2 separate regions of the Homo sapiens genome follow, and region 1 is linked to region 2. The links are contacts of gene promoters, found by promoter capture Hi-C in blood cells and fetal thymus (Javierre and others, 2016). All regions are on one chromosome and are shown on one strand. The core of a region is centred on a gene start or on the middle of the fragment in contact, and the rest is flanking DNA. Distances in the headings are between cores, read along the strand shown.

What was found. The method cuts DNA at HindIII sites, captures the fragments that hold promoters and counts their contacts. A CHiCAGO score of 5 or more calls a contact.
Region 1: a contact is called between the fragment with the promoter of AP3B2 here and the fragment with the promoter of RAMAC in region 2, in 15 of 17 cell types (fetal thymus, monocytes, total CD8 T cells and 12 more). The highest score is 15.6, in fetal thymus.

Annotation. Positions count from the first base shown.
Region 1 is chr15:82,708,372-82,715,136 of GRCh38, forward strand. It overlaps AP3B2 (adaptor related protein complex 3 subunit beta 2), which reads right to left and starts at 1,504. Exons shown (of 27, transcript NM_001278512.2): 1 at 1,223-1,504. The coding sequence starts at 1,335. It also overlaps the pseudogene LOC338963. RefSeq lists silencers at 1,028-1,287, 1,508-1,557. The HindIII fragment of the contact is 2,125 bases long and covers 1-2,102 here.
Region 2 is chr15:82,983,268-82,989,426 of GRCh38, forward strand. RAMAC (RNA guanine-7 methyltransferase activating subunit) reads left to right here and starts at 2,943. Exons shown (of 4, transcript NM_031452.4): 1 at 2,943-3,102; 2 at 4,069-4,117; 3 at 5,743-5,921. The coding sequence starts at 5,752. It also overlaps a transcript of HOMER2 not described here and a transcript of C15orf40 not described here. The HindIII fragment of the contact is 1,767 bases long and covers 2,359-4,125 here.

The sequences.
Region 1 (6,765 bases), core at 254-2,753, 280 kb before region 2:
TGGTGGTCTCTTCACATGGACGTGCGTGAAAATCCTCATCTTCTCCCCCTGTCCCTCTAAACCCCCACCCAATATCCAATTAATCATCAGGTCTGAGGCTTCCACCTCTTCCACAGCCTCAAATCTTCTGCCTCTCCCCTGGTCTAGGCCACAATCATGCCAGGCCTGTGAACTTCAAGACCCACCTCCCTTGTCTCTTGTTCAATCTGGCCCACCTCCAATCTCTTCTCCACAATGCAGCAGCCTGACGTCCTTCTAAAATATAAATCTGATTATGTCGCCTGCTTAGAATCCTTCAGGAGTCCTCCCCACCCTCTTTTCTGGTCAGTCCAGTGGCTCACACAGATTGTGGCCTGGCTCTCAACCTTCCTGAAAGCCCTTTCCTCTGCCTGGAACATACCTCACGCTCCTGTCTTCCTTCTCTCCGGCGCCAGAGACTAGGTCCTCTCCCTGCTCCCACTGCCCCCATTACACTCGACTGTCCCTGACTGCTTCTTCATCTGTGCTCCCCTCTAGAGCATCGTGAGGACAAGAAGGGTCTCATGTTCACAGTTGTATTCCGTGACTAGTTCAGGACTCGACACAGTTGGCTTTTCATAAATGCTTGTTGCAGAATTTACGAATAAACAAATGAAGAAACAAACGAACGAATCAAAGGTGGGGGAGGGTGTGAAGGTGGAGCTGAACTACAGGGGCAATGCCAGGAGCAGGGATGTGAGGGTCAGATGGAGATGGGGACCAGAGGGAGGGGAAATGAATTTGCAGCAGGGCCAAGCTGGGAGGCTGTGCAAGTACATCCAGGGCCCGCCTTCCTGAAGAGGCCCCAGGCTCAAGCTCAAGTTCGCTGACTCAGACCCCTCCCCCACATTTTTGGGAAGCCAACCCGCCTAGCACGAAAAAGGAAGGGAACCCCTAACGCAACGCCGCAAACCGGAGAAACACCTGGAACCGGAGGGTTTCTCCTCTCGAAACTGAGCTGGCCCATCCCCCGCCAGCCCCTATCTGCCCCCCTCCGCGTCCTAGGCCGGCCCCTGGAGCCGGGGTGCCAGCGCTGCCCGCGCTGGGCCGGGGCTCCAGGCCGCAGGAGGGGGCCGGGCGGGCTTCCGGTCGGCGCGGCCGGGGCGGGGCCGGCGCTGGGGCCGGGCGCTGTCCATGGTGCCCGCGCGCCTCGCCCGGTCCCCGGCCCCAACCCTCCCGCGAGCTTCCTGGCGGGCTCCCTCACCGCTTGTAGTCGGAGGAGAAGATGCCGCCGCTCGCGGGGTCGTGGCCGTACTCGGGCTCCCCGGGGCCAGCGGAGCCGCCCTTGTCTTCGCTGTAGGCGGGGGCGGCCGACATGGGGCGGCCAGGGAGACTTCGCCGAGGAGGAGGTTGCGGGGCCGGAGGCCGGCTGGAGCGGAGGAAGGGAAGGCGGGCCGGTCCGGTCCGGGCTGGCGAAGGCGGCGGCGCGGCAGGGGTTCAGCAGAGGCTGCAGTGTGCAGCGGCGGAGGCTGCGCGCGGATTTCTCAATCAGGGCCGCGCGCTGAGGTCTTAAAGGCACCGGCGCCAGCCGAGCGGAGGGCGTGTCCGCGAGGAGGCGACAGGGGCGGTGCGTCAGGGCCTGGCCCCGCCCATCCCTAGGAAATGCCCTCTTCAGGGCGTCTTCTGCCCTTTAAAGCGACTTGGCTCGTCTCCAGATCTAAAGGTGGGCGAGTCTGCTGGACGGACGCTGGGACCGTCTTGCAGGGGATGTGGAATAGCTGCCCCCACCCCCGACCACCTGGCCTCGGCGGGACGGGCCTCTGGGGCTCCGCTCTCCCCAGACGCACGCGCGGATGCTCACCCACGCCGTGGAGGGAAAGCGGGAACTGGAAAGAAGGCTGTGCCCGCAGGCTGGGGGTTCTAGAGCGGGAAGGGGTCACCGCACCCGAGGACCGGCCTCAGATACCTAAGGACGCTCCCTTTCCCGCCCCACCTTTCCTACAAAATCTGGCTTGGCAGCAGGAAGCCGAGGAGCTTCCTGGAGGTGGCGGAATTTAAGGAATTAAGGTCAGGGAGCTCCGAGGAGCCCTTGGGGGCTTAGAGAGATGGGAAACAGGATACAGAGGACGGTGAACATCTAATTAAGCTTTGGAAAGTAGTTTAATGAATCTTTCTGAAGCCTCCACGTCCACCCAGGAGGGCCAAGGTCATGCTTAATCCGGGGACACGTCCACGTCCATTGACACCTGAAAAGGAAGAGAAGGGTCTGGTGTGACCACCAGGGCTCCTGAGTCATGTGAGCCCTCCAGTTCAGCTCCCGAGCCCGAGTGACCCCTAGGCCCAAGGAAGGAAGGCTTGGATCCGATGGAAAGTAGTGAATTGGGCTGGGGGAAGAGGTAGGATCCAGTTGGGCATCAGTTGAGGTGGCTGGAGTCTTTTAGCTGGGCATGGGGACTGGAGGAGTTCCTAAGGCCTGAGTCTTGGTCTGTAACTAGCATCCCGAAGTCTCCATGGGCAGAATTGGCGGGCCTACCTGGGAAGGAGTGGGGCCCAGAAAGGTGGAGCTTGGCTCAGTAGAAAAGTTCTATTGGGGGTAATTCTACTGGGGTAAGGTTCTATTGGGGTAATGAGAAGGTTCTGTTGGGATAACCTAGACAAGTGGGTGGGTCCGCTTGGTTCCGGTGGCTTTGTGCCTGCCAGAGAAAAGTGGATCTTGAATTTGGAGAAAACTGGCCTGGGTGGGGAGTGGGAAGAGAAGGGCCTGGATTTTGCAGTTGCGCGTTTATAAGGCGCTTTGGCTAGTCTGCTCAGGAGGTGGGATGGGTCCTGTGCAGGTAGCTGGGCCACGCTCACCGACCTGCTGGAGCTCCCGTCTATTTGCCGGGGGTCCAGGCTGGGACCTGGGACGAGCAGACACAGTGCAAAGTGCACACAGTTGCTGCGCATGGAGTGATAGGATGGTGGGTCCGCGTCCGTCGCTTCGCTCACTCTGCGCAGCACGCGCCAGCAGGAGCGCAGCAGCGGGCGCTGCCCCTGTTTGGATACGATGCCTTTCCAGGAGCCCAGAAACTTCCCAGGAGCCCACAGCCTCCTGAGTTCTTGCCTGCGGGGATCGCCAGAGGGGTGCGGATCAGAGCCAGGCTTAGGTCCTATGCCCTGTGATCCCGCACCCCCATTTCCTGAGACCTCAGGGACCCTGAGTGCCCAAACCCCATTTTCAGAGAAACGTACCCCCAGCCTGGGACTTCAGTCTTTATCCCCGAGTAGCCAGCTCACTGGTGGGGCGTGGCTTGGCTGGGCAGCCTCTCCGCAGACTTGGGCCTGTGTTTCTGCTGGAGGCACTCACCCTCAAAGTGGATGATCTCTCCATGGCCACAGTATATGCCAACGTGGGCCCCGCACCAGCGTCAGGTGGGGGGAATCAGCCTGAACAGGAAGACGTCTCCTGGCTCAGGCTCCCTGCCCTCCAACTACACAGCCTCGAAGTGTTGACCCAGGAAAGCCTCAGAGAGGAAGAACTTAATGGTGCTGACTGCCCCAGTCAGGGCCTGCATGGAGAAAGGGACCTGCCTTCCTGGCGTTTACACAGGCCTGGGATAGGGAGGAGGTGGGTCCTTCCAATGACCATAGGTCGGATGGTCTGCCCAGGGCTCAGGGAGACCTGTCTTGGGCTTGGGCCCAAGGCAGAATGTCTTCACTGCCACACACTTGCCTCCTTGTGCTTAAGGGACTCCAGAGGTCCAGATATCACAGATACATCCTGCCTCGAGCCCCTACTGAGAACCCTTCAGTTCCAGCAAATGGTGCCTCCTCCCCATCCAACTGTCTTCTCATCTCAAAGTCCAGCCATTCCATTCTCTCCTCCTCCCCCCTGCGCTAGGATCCCCTTCCCCAACCAGCTCCCATCTTGCCACTGCTCCTGAAGGCAACACCAGGGACTGGGTGGGTGTCAGCTGGTACCTGAGTTGAGCAGAAGACCTGAAAAAATCGGGAAACCTGGATGAGATTTGGACCTAGGACAAGCATCTCCTCCCAAGTCTGTGTGGAGAAGGACCTCTCCAGAAACCTCTGTTGAGCAGCTGCTCATTTGATCCTTAATACAATCACAAGATAGGAACAATGTCCCCATTTTCAGGATAAGGAAACAGGTTTACAGAGGCTATGTATCACTGGAGTGCACGCAGCTAATGTATTCCTGCATGTTTCTGTGCCCTGTGCCCTTTGTACTAAAATCAGTCACCTCTCTTAGCTCTTCTTCCTCCATAAGGAAGTGAGAAACCTGCTTAGTTCAGGCTTCTCCCATCTCTACTGGAAACAGAAGGCTTTTGGGACTTGGGAGGATGGCCCCATTGCCTGCACTGTGCCTGATGTTTGATCTAAGAGCCTGGGAAAGTGGGTGAAGGTAAGACCTGTGGGCATGGAGCTCTCCAGGGGTGTTAGAGGAGCTGGGAGCAGGAAGTAACACACTACCGCCAGGTGTCTGGGCATCTTTGTTGGAAGGAAGCAGAATTGGCTCCAGCAGATTTGACTGGGGTGGGAAAGACCCATATGCAAATGAAGAGCCAGGCTGCCCAGGCCCACCATGCAGAATGCCAGCTACTGTGTGGCTCACTGTGTCTCTCCCATCCCTGATCCTTCCTTTTTCTCCTGGCCCATTCCATAGTATCTTCTGCATTTTTTTTTTTAAGATGGAGCCTTGCTCTGTCTTCAGGCTGGAGTGCAGTGGCACGATCTCGGCTCACTGCAACCTCCGCTTCCCGGGTTCAAGTGATTTTCCTGCCTCAGCCTCCCGAGTAGCTGGGACTACAGGCACCCACCACCACGCCCGGCTAATTTTTATATCTTTAGTAGAGATGGGGTTTCACCATCTTGGCCAGGCTGGTCTCAAACTCCTGACCTTGTGATCTGCCTGTCTCGGCCTCCCAAAGTGCTGGGATTACAGGCATGAGCCACCTCACCCAGCCAAATCTTCTGCTTATTACTGGGTGAGTCTCATTTTCTCAGACTGGGAGCTATGGAAGACCCAGGTGACCAACTCATCCCAGTCTGCCTACAACTTCCCATGTCTTAAAATTGGAAATCTTGCATCTCAGGAACCCAGGAAAACCTGAATATTGGGTTCCCCTAGGATCCGGTCTCCCCCTTTCCATCTCCTGCAATCTCAGAAGGCCACAGGGAGAACCCAGTCATGTAAACAGCTCTTTGGCTTTTGGTTATGCTCTCCTACCATCTACTAGGTAGCGAGGGCACCTTGAGCCCTACTCCCCTCTACCCTCACTCCTGCTGGGCCAAGCAGAGGTTTACAGCTATGGAAGAGGGCAGACTGTTCTGGCCCCTGTTGAAGCAGTGGGCACCCCACCTGTGGAGAGGACAAGACAAGCTGAAGACTTCTCCAGTTACCTGAGATGTGAAGCTCATCTAGGGAGAAAAAAATAAAAAACCCAGCCGTCACCACATGGCCACTGAGGAGGTGAGGACAGAGGCTGTCCAGGCTCTCTCCTCTCCCCTCTGGTTGTGCACTCCTCCTGTGGAGCTGCTTGTCTGTCATTGCATGGTTGTGCATTTGATGTGCATGTGAGTCTGCACTAAAATGCTGGACACGACACGGGACTGGGATACCCAGCCCTGGCTGTGCCACCTCTCTATATGGGACATCAAACCAGCCCCTTCCTCTCTCTGGGCCTCAACTTCCTGTGAACTAGGGACAATAAGCTCCAAGGGCTGGACATCACAGGGCCATTGTGAGGCAGTAAGAGCTCTCTGTGAGCTGGGTAAGGCTAGCTGGCAAGGTTTGTTTATCTAAAGTCTGCCCCTAAGCATGCAGATGTGGTTGTGGAGAGGAAGGGTGGGGAGAATACATCTTTCCCAGCTCAGAGAAGAAGAACAATGGGCCCTCAGAGGCTGGCGGCCTCCCTGTGACCCCTGCCCCAGAGCTCTCAGGGAATCACCTAGATGGAAAGGCCCTGGGGAGCAGGGCCCCACCCCGACTCTCCCTCTGAAAGTACCCCAGTGCTGGTGGGGGTGGGGAGGCACTTCAGCCACCATCAGCTAGGCGCTAGACTTTGAGTCAAGGTCTGATGAGGACATGCTCCTTCAGATAGGGGATGTAGGTCCACACATGGTGCTCCATCCATAATGATTGATTGCCAAAAGCTGTGCTAAAGCATCATTTAGCCCTAACAATAATGACTTGAAGTAGATGATGTTATACTTCCCATTTTACAGATGGGGAAACTGAGGCTTGGAGAGGTTACAAGCTGGTAAGCGGCACAACCAGTATTCAGGCCAAGTGGTCTGGCTCCAGTGCCCGTGTCCTTCACCACTGTACAGTATCATCTTTCTCACGCTGCTGGCATGTGAGGTCCCCCTTCCCCAGACTCAACTGCCAGGAAGTGCTGACCCCCGTATCCTTCCTGACCTGGAGAAACAGCTACCCTTCTTAGTTTTTGCTGAGTCAAGCCACCGTTTTCTTTGTAAGAAAGAAAAGGGGGCAAGGCCCTGGAGCTGTAAGAGCCCAGGGAACAGAGACTCCCACTCCTGGGGCACCTGGCCTGATCATGCCACCCACCCCATGGGGACTTCTTGCTGGGGGCCTGAGCTCTTCCTCCCCTCACCCTGACTAAGGCTTTCAACAGAGCAAAGTAATGAGGGTGGTCCTGCAGCTGGGTGTGAGGGTGACAGGCAGTCTTTCTGAAGCCCAGGGCCTTTCCCCAGAACCGGGCCCCTGCAGGACCCCAACCAGTGGGGTCAACCCAATTTAGTGACAAACCTAAATTATCAGCTCCTCTCCTCACCCTTCAGTTTAAC
Region 2 (6,159 bases), core at 1,693-4,192:
ATTGTAAAGTACAACAATCGTTAAGTCAAACAGTCCTGTCGGGGAGCAACTGTACACCAGTGATTTCAACTATTGTTTCTTCATGAATTACTCACACATTTACATATCTGGGTAGAGCCTCTCTTTCCTGAGATTTAGTCTTGTATTTCTAACAACTCCCTGGAAATTTTCTCTTGAATATTTCACCAGTGTTTCAAATTTTACAAATGTATTTGGGCTCTGAGTTCATTTTTCCCTTAAAGCCACTTTACCTTATGGATATTCCTTTTCAGCCCCAATTTCCCAGGCTTAAAGAATTGGAGCCTTTCCTGATTTCTTTCTTTTCTTTCTTTTTTTTTTTAGATGGAGTCTCACTCTGTCGCCCAGGCTGGAGGGCAGTGGTGCAATCTCGGCTCACTGCAACCTCTGCCTCCCAAGTTCAAGCAATCCTCCCTGCCTCAGCTTCCCGAGTAGCTGGGATTACAGGCGCCCCTGACCACGCCCGGCTAATTTTTTTGATTTTTTAGTAGAGACAGGATTTCACCATGTTGGTCAGGCTGGTCTTGAACTCCTGACCTCAAGTGATCCGCCTGCCTCGGCCTCTCAAAGTGCAGGGATTACAGGAGTAAGCCACCGCACCCAGCTCCTTCCCTGATTTCTACCAATCTTTTTCTCTCGTAATCCACTCAGTAACTAAGTATAGTACTATTTACTATTTAGCGCACTATAGCGCGCTAACCAATTGCACTACTGGAGCTCCAGAATAGTACTATTCAATTATTATTATTATTTTTTTTTTTTTTTGAGACGGAGTCTTGCTCTGTCACCCAGGCTGGAGTGCAGTGGCGCAATCTCTGCTCACTGCAAGCTCCGCCTCCTGGGTTCACGCCATTCTCCTGCCTCAGCCTCCCGAGTAGCTAGGACTACAGGCGCCGGCCACCACGCCCAGCTAATTTTATGTATACTTAGTAGAGACAGGGTTTCACCGTGTTAGCCAGGATGGTCTTGATCTCCTGACCTCATGATCCACCCGCCTCGACCTCCCAAAGTGCTGGGATTACAGGCGTGAGCCACCGCACCCGGCCTTTTATTCAATTATTGTAACCTTGGTTGTTACACCTCTTACCTTTACTACCCAACACCAAGACTATCCTATTCCCTCATCCATACTATCCTATATACTTTTGCTAGGTTAATGTTTCTAAAACATTACTTGGAATATTCATAGTTCTATCATTCATTCCACAAACATTTATTCAGTGCTAACGTCATGGAAAAAGCACAATGTGGGGCTGGGCTCCACGGCTCAGGCCTGTAATCCCAGCCCTTTGGGAGGCTGAGGTGGGTGGACTGCTTGAGCCCAGAGTTCGAGACCAGACTGGGCAATACTGCAAAATTCCATCTCTACAAAAAATACAAAAAATTAGCAGGGTGGTGGTGTGCACCTGTAGTCCCAGCTCTCCGGAGGCTGAGCTGAGAGGATCGCCTGAGCCCAGGAAGTCGAGGCTGCAGTATGCCATGACCACGTCACTGCACTCCAGCCTGGGCAACAGAATGAGACCCTGTGTCAAAGAAACAAACAAACAAACAAACAAAAAAAGCACAATGTTATACACTCCAGAATGTAGAAATGCATTAGATAAAGGCCTGTTTACAGTTTAATAGGGGGAAAGACTTGCAAGTAAATAATTTTAGTTCGAAGTTAGAAAGTGGTAATAACTAAATACATGAAATTCCAGAAATATGATGGACTCTCAATAGAAAGAAAAATTATTTCTAGGTAGAGATGTCACTTTCTAAAGCTTTAAATAATGGAAAGAATTTCAACATTTGGAGATGAGGGGGAGAGACAGGTATTTCATGCAAGGGACATGAGCAATCTATAAAAATGTAATAATTTATGCATGACGTACTTCACAGGGTCTGGTTTACCACTGACTGAGGGAGAATGGAAGGGGAACAGCAGAAAATAAAAAAAGTTTTGAATCCAAGTTAATAAACTTGACCTTTAATCTACAGGCAACAGAGAGCCATTGGATCAGCTATTTTGGATCACGGTGGTGCTTGAAGATGGCTACACCTATAGCAGGTATATGTAAGATAGGCTAGTAGCAGAGTGATGCTAGAGGCAGGACATCAATGAGAAAGGTACTGCACTGACACCGTGCAGGGGATGGTAATGAGAACGTTGATTAGGTGGGGGCAGTGGGTAAGAAGATGCAAGAATTACTGTAGGGGTACAATCGACAGGACTTGGCAAGTGATTGGAGCATGGAAAGGCAAGAAAGGGCATCAAATCTGACATCAAAGTTTCCAAGTTGGTTGTATTAACAAAAACGGGTGCATAGCCTGGGAAGTAATTTGGGAGGGAAGAGGCCAAGCTTTGTCGGGATATTAAGTGTTTATACATTTGCTGAACATCCCACAAGACATGGGCAAGACTCTTGGAAGTAGCTGGATACTGACGACTGAAGCTGGAGCAGAGAGGGGGTATGTTTCTGCAAAACCACATACAAAACGGACTACGGAAATCTTACTACCGAGGCTTGCCCAGGCAGGAGAGAAAGGTGTAGCATCCCTGAAGTCATCAGTCGTGTCTACTCTTCACCGCCTGCTCTCACCTCACGTTCCCCACGAAGACTCCGGGAGCAGGCGGCCGGAAGGAGCCCTTCCCTCCCTTCTCCGGTGATTCCCAGAACTTCCGTCTCTACCCGTCACCTGCTCCCAATCAAAGGAGCTTAATAGACGGCGACGTTTTCGACTGCCCAGCCACCAGGCAGGCTGAAAGTGCATGGAGGGCATCATCCACCTTTAGACAGCTACTTGCCCACACCTCATCGAGCTCTGGGCGTTGTGCCAGCATTTGAAGAAGCGATCTGTTGCAAAGCGATCCACACGGAGAGCCTTAGTTATCGCGAGACTTGACAGGCACCCTCAACTTTAGCCCGCCGGAAGCGGAAGTCAGGTGGTTGTCGGATTTTAGAGGAAGGCGCTCGGTTACATTGGAGAACTGGAGTGGTCTGGAGTTCCACGGTGTAGTGGACCAGAGGCCACCTCTCCTGGGCTTCTCAGTGTCTCGCCGGCGGGGTTCGGCCTGAGCTGGATTGACATAGCCCTTGGCGGGTGAGTCGCCCCGGACGCCCGGGAGGAGGGAGCGGGGCGGCCGAGCTGGGTGGCCAGCGAGGTGTCCTCCCCCTGTGCGGTGATCTGTACTCTTTGCTAGACCGAAGCCCGTTTACTTCTCACGGCCCATAATTTCCCTCACTTCTGGAGGTATAAGGTGCTTCGGAAGGGAGCAAATCTGCCAGAACCTTGGTAAGCAAGCTGTGATGTGCCTTGAGGACGGACTGGAAAACGCAGTTGTTTTCAGTCTGCATCTTCGTCTGTTCCCCGGGCTCACCTCCCAGGGCAGCGAAACCCCATTCTGGTTGGTTATTTCCAGGGTTAGTCGCCCGCAGCCAAAGTTCTTTGTGGTTTTATTTGTGGTGAATAAATTAGCAGTATTCAAGTACAAATCTGAAAGGCTTACCCTAAAAGAACATACATACTTTATGAAGTTTGTATTCATACTTGAACTATTTTGCTTTTGAAGGCCCAGAGGACAAATCTTGTAGCTTCTTGCTCTTGAGAACCAGTTCCCTCTTTGGAATATTAGCTTTGGAAGTCTTTAGAGCGTTTTTTTGGTTTGTTTTTTGTTTTTTTTTTGAGACGGAGTCTCGCTCTGTCGCCCAGGCTGGAGTGCAGTGGCGCGATCTCCGCCTCCCAAGTTCAAGCGATTCTCCTGCCTCAGCCTCCCGAGTAGCTGGGACTACAGGCACATGCCACCACGCCTGGCTAATTTTTTCTATTTTTAGGAGAGACGAGGTTTCACCGTGTTAGCCAGGCTGGTCTCGATCTCTTGACTTCGTGATCTGCCCGCCTCGGCCTCCCAAAGTGTTGGGATTACAGAGGTGAGCCACCGCGCCTGGCCTTAGAGCACTTTTACTCCAATTCTTTCCTTGAATAAGACTCTTATGCGCCACCCTCCCCTACAAACACCTTTTGAGAGTTTCCTTAAATAAAGTCAAGTTTGTTTTTTTCCTCCCACAGATTTAAACAACCTAAACATTAAGCAGTACAGCTGCCTCAAACCTTTGGGGTAAGTAAAGCTTGGGTCGATTAACATTCTATTTAAATTTCGTTCTCAGTAATAATACAGTTGATATTTGTTTACATGAGTATGGGTGGGGAGTCGTGGGAGAACATATGAGAACATAAAAATGGAGTAGCACCTTTTCCTTGCCTTATGATTTTTACTGCCCATCTGGATTAGGTATGGGTCATCTTTTTAGTGATTTCTGTGATCCCACTAGAATTCTAGACATGATTTTTAATTAGCTGAATTTATTTAAAACTCATTCCTTGGATTTGAGAATTTGATATAGTTTGCCAATCCCAGACACATTGAAAGTCTGATATTTGGTATTTGATAAAGCATACTAAGAGCAATAGCCTGAAAGATAAGAGTGTCAGGCTGGGCGCGGTGGCTTATGCCTGTTATCCCAGTACTTTGGGAGGCTGAGGCAGGCAGATCACCTGAGGTCAGGAGTTCAAGATCAGCCTGGCCAACATGATGAAACCCTGTCTCTACTAAAAATACAAAAATTAGCGAGCGGGCGTGCACCTGTAATCCCAGCTATTCGGGAGGCAGAGACAGGAGAATCACTTGAATTCGAGAGGCAGAGATTGCAGTGAGCCGAGATCGCGCCATTGCACTCTAGCCTGGGCAACAAGAGTGAAACTCCGTCTCAAAAAAAAAAAAAAAAAAAGGCTGGGCGCAGTGGCTCATACCTGTAATCCCAGGACTTTGGGAGGCCAAAGCGGGCGGATTATGAGGTCAGGAGTTCAAGACCCGCCTGGCCAACAAAACCCCATCTCTACTAAAAATGCAAAAATTAGCTGGGTGTGGTGGCGCGTGCCTGTAATCCCAGCTACTTGGGAGGCTGAGGCAGGAGAATTGCTTGAACCTGGGAGGCAGAGGTTGCAGTGTGCTGAGATCGCGCCATTGCACTCCAACTCTGGGTGACAGAGCAAGACTCCGTCTGGGGGAAAAGGAAAAAGAAAAAATCTACATATTGTTTCTTGCAATGCAACAATAATTTCCGTTTAATTTTGTTGGGGTTAAAGTAGGTAGTATAAATGTTACAAATATTTGCATATGTTTGGAGGAAAGGCAGACTAATGAAGAAGTTATCACAATAGCTTCCATTGTCACATCTTTTTGTCCCAAACCTTTTATTGGAAGTTAATAAAGTAAGAAAAATAATTCGGGCCAGGCACAGTGGCTCATGCCTGTAATCCCAGCACTTTGGGAAGCCAAGGCAGGAGGATCACCGAAGCCCAAGACTTCCAGCCTAGGCAACATGGCGAGATCCCGTCTCTTCAAAAAATACGAAAATTAGCCGGGTGTGGGTGGCATGCACCTGTAGTTCCAGCAACTTGGGAGGCTGAGGTGGGAGGATTGTTTGAGCCAGGGAAGTCAAGGCTGCAGTGACCCGAGGTTGTGCCGCTGTGCTCCAGCCTGGGTGACAAAGTGAGAGACCCTGTCTCAAAAAAAAAAAAAAAATGTTGAATTCAATATCTAAAATATGACATGTCTGAAAGCACACAAAGACTTCCATGAATACCCCGCCTAAAAATTGCTTACTTCTTGGTTTTTCATTATTTGGAGAGAGTGTTAATTTTTAAATTTTTTTTAATGGAAATGTCTTTAAAATTGTACAGATTTTCAGAATGACTGACACTGCCGAAGCTGTTCCAAAGTTTGAAGAGATGTTTGCTAGTAGATTCACAGAAAATGACAAGGAGTATCAGGAATACCTGAAACGCCCTCCTGAGTCTCCTCCAATTGTTGAGGAATGGAATAGCAGAGCTGGTGGGAACCAAAGAAACAGAGGCAATCGGTGTGTATTCAAAAGAATAAATGCAGATAGTTGATCTGGCAGAGGATAGCTTTAATCTGCTAGACTGGAAGGCCAGTGAGGGCAGGGACCAGTGTTTTTGGTATGGCATACCTAGTACCTAATAACAGTACCTGGTACATCATTTCTGATAAATATTTGCTTTAATATTTTTTCAGCACCATGTATTTTTTCCTTGCTGTTCAAGTGCGTGTGTTTTTTTGTTTTTAGATGTTTTTTC